Linked DNA regions of Homo sapiens: region 1 is linked to region 2. Evidence: promoter capture Hi-C in human tissues and cell types (Jung and others, 2019). All regions are on one chromosome and are shown on one strand. Each heading gives the region's core, a stretch centred on a gene start or on the middle of the fragment in contact. The rest is flanking DNA. Distances are from core to core; before and after follow the strand shown.

Region 1 (4,904 bases), core at 2,051-4,550, 190 kb after region 2:
ACTCTAGGCATGAGAGCCATATAGAAGTTACTATGGTGTGACCCTGGCCCTTTAGGAGCTCACATTCACAGCTCAGAGGGAATTGCAGGCTCCCGGAAGCTCTGTTCTTTCACTTCTGTTGGAGCTGCTATCAGACCAGGTTGTTTGCTGGCTGGGCGTAGGCTGGGCTTGAAGATACTATAATTCTTATTCTTTGTCCCTTGTTTTCTAATAATGCCTCCTCTTCTCTTGAGGAAACTAAAGAATGATAGGCCATTTTATTTCTCAGCATTCGAGGAATTCTTTCACATGCTTTTTTTCTTCTCTGTCTTCTCCACATTTGGTTTCAAAACCAGGGGATTACTTTGTTTGCCCCTGCATCACTGGTATTTTAAAAGCATTAAACTTGAAAGTAATTTCTAACTGTGAGCAGCCATCCTGACATACTTTTGAAGAAACTGTCCACCTCTTGCTGGATAGGCATGCTACACACTGGCAGCCATGCCAACTCCTTGGTGATTTACCACTTAGTAAGTTTTTACCCTCATCAGAGGGTGGTAGTAGAACAGGAACTAGATCTTTGAATTATTTCTCTGTTTTGGAATGAAAATTACTTCAGGGTCGAGTAAGGTTAGAAATGTTGGGAAAAGTTATTTTCAGAATAAAATTTATGCTTTAAAATCAGTTTGGACACATTTTTGTTACTTTAAAATATGTACTCACGCCAGTTAGAATGGCGATCATTAAAAAGTCAGGAGACAACAGATGCTGGAGAGGATGTGGAGAAATAGGAACGCTTTTACACTGTTGGTGGGAGCATGAATTAGTTCAACCATTGTGGAAGACAGTGTGGAAGATCCTTAAGGATCTAGAACCAGAAATACCATTTGACCCAGCAATCCCATTACTGGGTATATACCCAAAGGATTATCAATCATTCTACCAAAAAGACACATGCACATGTATGTTTATTGCAGCACTATTCACAGTAGCAAAGACTTGGAACCAACCCAAATGCCCATCAATGATAGACTGGATAAAGAAAATGTGGCACATATACACCGTAGAATACTATGCAGCCATAAAAAAGCATCAGTTCGTGTCCTTTGCAGGGACATGGATGAAGCTGGAAACCATCATTCTCAGCAAAACAGGAACAGAAAACCAAACACCGCATGTTCTCACTCATAAGTGGGAGTTGAACAATGAGAACACATGGACACAGAGAGGGGAACATCACACACCAGGGCCTGTCAGGTGGTGGAAGCTAGGGGAGGGATAGCATTAGGAGAAATACCTAATGTAGATGACAGGTTAATGGGTGCAGCAAACCACCATGGCACATGTATACCTATGTAACAAACCTGCACGTTCTGCACACATATCCCAGAACTTAAAAGTATAATTTAAAAAAATATATGTAGGCAGTAAAATTTAAAAAATCTTTGCCAGAGTTCATCAAATGAAGGGATGTAATCTAATTACACTCTCTCATGCAACAACAATTATCAGTATCTTTTGTTAAATCCACTGTGTTTAGAATCATTCTGTCATCATTACTGTTTTATTTCTAGTCTTTGATTTCTTTTCTATTGCTTCCTGTTCTTCTGAACAAATTTAAGATGATGTTACTGACATAGTTTTTGTTTTTCAGCTATCAGGAAATTTTACCAATTATTTGCTTTCCTCATCCTACCTCCACCTTCCCAGCTGCCAGGCATGATATGGGGGACAGGGATTTGAGAATCTTGTCTCCACCTGTGAATGTTGTTTAATTTATCACACAAAAGCTGGAATTAGGTGCATTCTATTCATCCATTCCCTTAGCAGGAGCACATACTCTGTGGCCAAGTGGAAACATGGACAGAATTTATCATTAGTATTTATAGCACTATAACATAATATGCCAGCATTTGGAGCTTAAAGGGATTGAATGCGGTATAACATAATAAAATACAGTCTGTAAAAATCCGTGGATTATTCAGAAAAATAGTTTTATGATGCAAGGTGGCTAAATTATTAAAGCACTGACATAAATGATCTGTCAGTTTGCTATTTAAATATTTATTTAATTATGCTCTACAATGGAGTTATACATCAACTCTGAACTGTGTTAGAAAAATTATGATTAGGAGTATTAATTTATCTTTTATTTTGTTTTGACTCTTATATTCTGGAGAGGCACCTGAGGGCACAAGCTCCATTCTGTCTAGTAATCAAACTACATCTCATAAGTGTACTTCATTTGCAGAATATGCCATTTTAGCCTGTTTTGAGATTAAGCCTGATTTTGTGCATCAGTCTGGTTATTTGCACAGAGAGGAAACTTAATCTGAGTGTTACCACCATCTACTTGTTGTATTCACTGACATCTCCTTCCAGATTTCTGTCAGCAACAATTTCAAGTGAATCAAATAGGACTGCTCTGATAAGCTATTCTTCCGTAGCACAGAAAGCCTGTATGAATCAAATGTCAAAATTCATTCTAGGCAAATAGTTTACAGAGAATGTGCTAGCCTACAGAAGTTTGCTGCTCATGGTTTTTGAAATAAGTTTTCATGGAAATATGGTGCTTAGCAACTTTTATGAAAGATACTTAAAAAAATTTGGTGTGCGCTTCTGGCTAGAAGTTCGATACTAGCCTCTTTATTATCTAACAGTTATAGTCAATTCTCCGTCTTTTAAAAGAGATTATAATTCATTAGAGACTTAAGCTAAGTCTTGCTGTTTAAAGTGAGTAGTAGAAAAAGTTGGACAAAAATCCTGGGTTTTCATTTTTAAAAAATTAATGACAGGGTTGCTAGTCTCCCTTTGTGATGGTATATAATTTTTAAGAAAAATGAGAAGTTAAGGAAGTCATATTTTCACACTATTTTACAAATTTCCTCTCAAAATAGTATTTATTTAAATATATCCTATGTGTTCAGAAATAATTTTTATCCCCAGATATTGATTTGGTTCCTACTTGAGCTGAGAAGATAAAAAGAAAAGTATGAAGTATCATTTTTCCTTTTATTTATGAATTTTACTTTCAGAGATAAGCTTTACATATAAGACAGTAATAGCAGGTGTTTATACACACACACACTTATATCCACATACATAAACATATGAGTCAAATTGATAAAGTATTGTTTATAGTTCTGAAAAGTAATACAAAAGCACAGAAGTGCCAAGTTACTATAGGCTGGAGTCGGTATGCATGTCTTCACTGAGGAGAAACTTTTGGATTTCAAAGAATGATATATTTAGGGCTGAGCACGCTGGCTTATGCTTGTAATCCCAGGACTTTGGGAGGCCGAGGCGGGCAGATCACACTTGAGGTCAGGAATTTGAGACTAACCTGGCCAATGTGATGAAACCCCATCTCTACTAAAAATACAAAAATTAACTGAGCATGGTGAGGGGGCACCTGTAGTCTCAGCTACTTGGGAGGCTGAGGCACAAGAATTGCTTGAACCCAGGAGGTAGAGTCTACAGTGAACCAGGATCATGCCACTGCAGTGCAGCCTGGGCGACAGAGTGAGACTCCATCTCCCAAAAGAAAAAAAAAAAAGATATATTTAGGAAAAACTCAGCTATACCCTAACCTAACCTATTACATTTTTCATTTTAAAACTGCTTAAATAGTAGCATCCAAGCAAAAATTGGGGGTTACAAGAAAGAAAAGGTTTTAATATATCCTTGCGTATCAAGGATGACATAAAAAAAATGTACCAGAAACATTTGTTCAGGGCAAACCACTTTCCTGGCTTTACAGGGCTAGTGTTGCCATTTTTGATCCAGGCTTTCTTTGGCTTGGCATTAACTAGGAATCTTCATCTTGCAAAGCCAGTGTATTTATTGGGGTTTAAATAAATTAAGCTCTTTGCTTCTGCTAAATCTATGGAGAAGTGGATTCCCACCCATGGGAAAGAAAGCATAAAATACAAATGCACTGATCCTACCTCCTATCCTTTTTCAGTCTGCTTATCCTAATTTTGCTTTTCCCAGGTTCCTTGCATTGGGGGAAGAATCACGTGTGCATATGTACACAGTAACATGTACACTCTGCATTGTCTTAGAACAGATTTTGTAGGGAACAGAGCTAAGTGTGCATGTTCATTCTACCATCTTTAATTGGAAGTCTATTTTCTACTTAATAAAAGTTGAACGATGAGCATGTTTTGTCACATACTAAAATAAAGTGGACTCTTCCCCTGAATATAGCACATGTCAAAGTTACCATTAGGCTCTCTGGATATCTTCTAAAAAGACTTTTGATTGTGGTAGCTTTAGTAGCATCTGTTTTGACATAGTTCATTGTTTTCTTGCAGATGCTTTTCATTAGTTTTCATTTTGTTGCTTTAGTATTCCCTGCTGGTGTCTAGATAATCCGTTTTATTTTGCATGTGTGTTTAATTGGGGGGTGGGTCCTAGGAGATGAAAGAGGATAGAAATGCTTTTCTCCTTAAAATATGTTATTTGGGGCCGGGCGCGGTGTCTTACATCTGTAATCCTAGCACTTTGGGAGGCCGAGGTGGGCGGATCACGAGGTCAGGAGTTTGAGACCAGCCTGGCCAACATGGAGAAACCACATCTCTACTAAAGATACAAAAAATTAGCCGGGCTTGGTGGCACACGCCTGTAATCCCAGCTACTTGGGAGGCTGAGGCAGGAGAATTGCTTGAACCCGACAGGCGGAGGTTGTAGTGAGCGGTGATCACACCACTGCACTCCAGCCTGGGTGATAGAGTGAGACTCAGCCTCAAAAAAAAAAAAAAGTTATTTGGGTTTTTGGCAAATAGGTGCAATTCATTTGTTATTCACTTGGTTTGGGTCACTATTTATTATATATAGTTTTGTGGCTTTATTCATTAAACATTTCTGGACCAAGCATTGGTGATATCATGAGGGATTTTTAGTCTCCTCTGCCCCTGGTTGGA
Region 2 (4,700 bases), core at 1-2,500:
GTTAATAGTGTCCGAAAATGGATGAAAGGAGGAAGTAACCTCCACAAACATCTTAAACTTTATGAGTAAGGAAAATATACAGATATGCTAACAGGATCCTGAATTGCAAAGCCACGGCACTTAAACAAGGAACTGGAGTATGGCTCTTTTCTCCTTAACAATTTCCATTCCCATGCATTTCCTAAATGCAAAAACTCACTGTCATCATTCACTTAACAATTGTCAACATATTCACACGATTAACTGCTATTTATATAGTACACTTTAACGTTTTTATGCTTTTTATACTCTTCTATGAGTTTATCCTATGAAACTCTTGCAGAGGAGCACCTTTTCTCTAATTGGTTTGCGGACCCTTTTACCGAAAGTCCACCCCTAACTCGCTCTATCACAAAGTTCAGTTCACAACAAACGCTGACCTAAACTGGAAATTCATTCCGGGCGCTAGTGTAGACTTGGCGCCAGTTTTAAAAGCGGTCATGTCCAAACCTGGCAGAAAATCCTAAATGAGACAGTATGGTGGTTCGGGTGCTTAATATTTGTGATATAAGATAAAATCGAAATTTTACTAGGTTTTGTTTACATTTACCCACATCAACACCGTCGGAAGGAATGTGTACTGGCATGAACTTTGTGCAAAGGGTCACAGGATGAGAAAGGGAGAAAGAAAAGTGAAACTCGGGGATGGGCTCATACCCCCGCCTCCTGTCGGACCCACAATGCGTGCATTAAAACGCTTCGCTACAGGCAGCACTGATGTACACCCCGGTTGCACCGGGCTTCTCGGTGCTACCCTGAGTCCTTTTGGGAAGGAGGGAGACTCGGAGAAGGGCCGGCGCGGGTCAGGCCCTCCCAAAGTTCGAGCGCAGAGCAGGCCCAGGCCCCCGCGGCTCCTGTCGCCCCCGCCCCGGCCCGCTGGACAGCCCGGTCTCACCCGCTTCGGGGCGCTCCATGGTCGCGGCGCATGCGGGCGGCGCGTCTGGGCTGGCGGCAGCGGCGGTGGCGGGCCGCGTCCCGGGGCTGGAGGCGAGGCCGAGGCGGAGGCCAGGGCGGGGCTCGGGGCCTGAGGGCGGTGCGCTGGGCCGGCGCGGGGTCCAGCGACAGGCTGCGGGGGCCCGGGCGGCGGAGGCCAGGCCTGCGGAAGCGCGGAGCTTCCCAAGCCGCAGCCCCCGCGGCAGCGGCAGCAGCGGCGGCGGCAGCCGCAGCAGCCGCAGCACCCGCATGCCAGGCCGGACGCCGGAACAAGCCAGAAGGGGCCGACCCGAGTCGCCGGTGGTACCCGGATTCGGGCGAGAGGCGCGGACGCGCTCGGGCAGGGCGGGGGAAACTAGGGCCGGCGACTGCGGCGTCACGGCAGCCCAGGTCGTCTCGACTCTGCAATGCGACGCTGGGTCTTCGCCTGCCTGCCGAGCCCCGCGGCCTCCGACGGCCTTTGGCAGCCCTCATTTATTTCCCGTGGCGCAGCCTTGCCCCTCCCACGCTTTCAAGGGCGAGATTGGGACTAGGATGAAAGAATTCTCTGGCCTGGTGTCTTTTGAGAATCCATGTGCTTAGTTTTGCAATCAGGGTTCTGATTGCAGAATATTTGGGAAGAGCGAAATGTACAAGAACGAGACCTTGTACTTCTGTATAATGAGATACTTTATTTACCTTACTTTTAAAAACTGCAAATTGTGACAAAGTCTCTAATTTTTAACAATGATGTTATGTTTAGACATTAAGAGGAAACCAGTTGCTGGTTCTTGTAGTATAAGGTACTGCAGTGAGTAAATTGGGAGAAAAAGAAATTTACTTAGTTTAAAAAAATAAAAACCTTTCACTTGAAACGGAATGCTATTGGGATTGGTTTTAGTGCGAAGAAACCAGGGGTTAAGAACATTAGGTGCATCCGTCCACAAATTAGCGCCTTTCGTGAATAATAACACTTCGCTTATGTTGAATGCATCGTAGAATAGGGATGGAAGAAAAGAAGACCCCTACACAGCCACAACAGCTGGCGTAAAGGCTGCACACTAGAAGTCGGCAAACTAGTTACTCTGATTTTCAAATAATTCTAACACGTTGAGTTTCTGATGCCCATTTATGGGCTGGTAGGAAAGTACAACCAGTTCCCCTAATATTTATTTAATGCTTGAGCTCTGTGCTGAGGATGTGCAGGTAAGACAGGTCTTTTACTTATGGAGCTGATCATATAATAGCAGAGAAAGAAACATAAGTAACTGCGGAAATAAAAGCTGCAAAAATGTGGTCCACATTCATAGTGAAGAGGATGAGAATATGCCACCCCAAATATGCCACTTCAGCATAAGGATTATTCTTGAGCTTAAAACAGTTCAGAAACTAAAGACTCAGGAACAACTTTGACCTCCCCCTTTCTGCCTAAAAGCAGGACATAAATTTCCCTTCGTAAAGGTGACATAAATTTTTATTTTTAAAGCTTTACCAGGCCGGGCCCAGTGGCTCACGCTTGTAACCCCAACACTTTGGGAGGTCAAGGCGAGTGGATCACTTGAGTCCAGGAGTTTGAAACCAGCCTGGGCAACATAGCAAAACCCTGTCTCTACCAAAAATACAAAAATTAACCAGACGTGGTGACCCATGCCTGTAATCCCAGCTACTCCAGAGGCTGAGGTGGGAGGATCGCTGGAGCCCAGGAGGTGGAGGTTGCAGTGAGCTGAGATGATGCCATTGCACTCCAGTGTGGACAACAGAGCCAGATCCTGTCTCAAACAAACAAACAAACAACAAAGCTTTACCACTCACCCATACCAGAAAGAGGAGAATGAGTCTTACCTGCATAACAAACCCATACATTTTCTAGTAACCTTCCCATACTGCAAAAAGGCTAAGCCCCCTTTTCCTTTGTCTAGCCTCTCCACACTTTATCATCGTTAAAATGGTATAGAAGCCCCCAGTTCTAACTGCCTCTTCGGGCTTTTAGTTCTTTCCTGTGAAGCATCTATGTGCATGTGTAATAATCCTTTTCTCGTCTTAATCTGTCTTTTGTCAATTTAATTTACACAGTCCAACCTAGTGAACTAAATGGGCAGGAGAAAGATTTTTCTTCCCCTGTGGTGTGTACCAAGAGATATATGGAAGTTTCATTCTCTTACCTAAGCAGAGGTAACAGCCCAAATGCCACATATTTTTCACCACCAGTATTATGAATACAGAGTCTTATCAACACCTACCATGTGGAGGAACATTTTAATTACCCAAGTCTGAAAAAGGAATTTTTCACAGAGCTTCTTTTAGAAATGACAGGGAGAAAGGGAAGTACAAGGTGAACCTTGGACATCTTCTTGTGCCAAAAAGCAAAGACAAATGGGGACTATCAAAAACACAAGGACTAGCGAGAAACAGCTTTCTTTGAGCAAATGGGAGATAATCTGACATCATAAAAGGATAACACCTGTAATTATTGTAACATACTGAATACAAAATCTATATACCCATAATAATACTCAAAAAATGAGGAAGAAAAACTAGTAGGCCACCATTAAAGGTGACAAGTACGCAATTCCTTAGTCTCCTTACTCTAAAAATTAAAGGGAAAGAAAGATTTACCATGACTTTTTAGAAGTAGTAGTATGGGAAAGCTGCTTTGCACAGAAGAATTTTCAATAATAAATATAGGAGACATAAAATAATTGGAAAATTACCATTTTGCCACCACAACTGATAACTGATTGATGCAAAGATCATCAATATATTCTAAAACCATTACATGAAAGGTTAATGTGGACCGAAATATTTATAAGTTGCCAAAATACTACCCCCCACAAAATACTTGGTAATTGCTCAGGAGAGAACATATTTTTACTCCATGTAAATAAACCTGGTTGTCACCACCTTTATCGTGATTAAACTCAGCATCATTAATGGTGGACAATCTGTGAAAGCTCCTGTGAAAGCTATATCATCACTGCAAGGTAGTCTTGCCATAAATATTTCACCTGAAGCTGCTAAGGCTTTAAATATAATTTTCAGATTTCCAGAAATACAGGAGATAGAGGTACAAGTAAAATAACATGATGAGGAAAGAATCAGACCAATCCAGAATGTGTGACATTCTAGAAAATAATTGGCTCAGGCTTTTCAAAATCTCGGTGGGGTGTTGTGGTCCAGGAACAGTGTGGTAGCTTAAAACTAAACCCTTCCAATCCAGTTGTTTTGGCACTGTGCCAGTGTATATTGTCCTCTGGGGAGAAAAGGGCTGTGTACTAATAGTCAGGGAGGAATGGGCAGAACATACGGAGGGAGAGGGAAGTGTGGACCAGAGGATCCATGCCCTCATGAGTCGTGCTGCAGGTGAACCTTCGTTAAAGCATTGGGCAACCTGGTTCTTTTTTGCTTTCATAAAACAAATTAATACCTATGAATTCATCTTTTTTTTTTTTTTCTGAGACGGAATCTCGCTCTGTCGCCCAGGCTGGAGTGCGGTGGCGCAATCTCGGCTCACTGCAAGCTCCGCCTCCCGGGTTCCCGCCATTCTCCCTGCTCTACTTCCCGAGTAGATGGGACCACAGGCGCCCGCCACCACGCCCGGCTAATTTTTTGTATTTTTTAGTAGAGACGGGGTTTCACTATGTTAGCCAAGATGGTCTCGATCTCCTGACCTCATGATCCGCCCGCCTCGGCCTCCCAAAGTGCTGGGATTACAGTTGTGACCCACCGCGCCTGGCCGAATTTATCTATTT

The links. Contacts are between HindIII fragments. The study calls those that stand out against the background at their distance.
Region 1: a contact is called between a fragment that was not itself captured here and the fragment with the promoter of AKAP7 in region 2, in 2 of the 25 tissues and cell types used here (IMR-90 fibroblasts and adrenal gland).

Annotation. Positions count from the first base shown.
Region 1 is chr6:130,939,096-130,943,999 of GRCh38, reverse strand. All of the region lies in intron 3 of EPB41L2 (erythrocyte membrane protein band 4.1 like 2), which reads left to right. Among named protein-coding and RNA genes, the nearest start is that of SMLR1, 110 kb to the right of the region's middle. The HindIII fragment of the contact is 5,157 bases long and covers 722-4,904 here.
Region 2 is chr6:131,132,017-131,136,716 of GRCh38, reverse strand. AKAP7 (A-kinase anchoring protein 7) reads right to left here and starts at 1,250. Exons shown (of 8, transcript NM_016377.4): 1 at 935-1,250. The coding sequence starts at 953. RefSeq lists enhancers at 623-682, 1,119-1,619 and silencers at 943-1,052, 1,203-1,292. The HindIII fragment of the contact is 8,304 bases long and covers 1-2,594 here.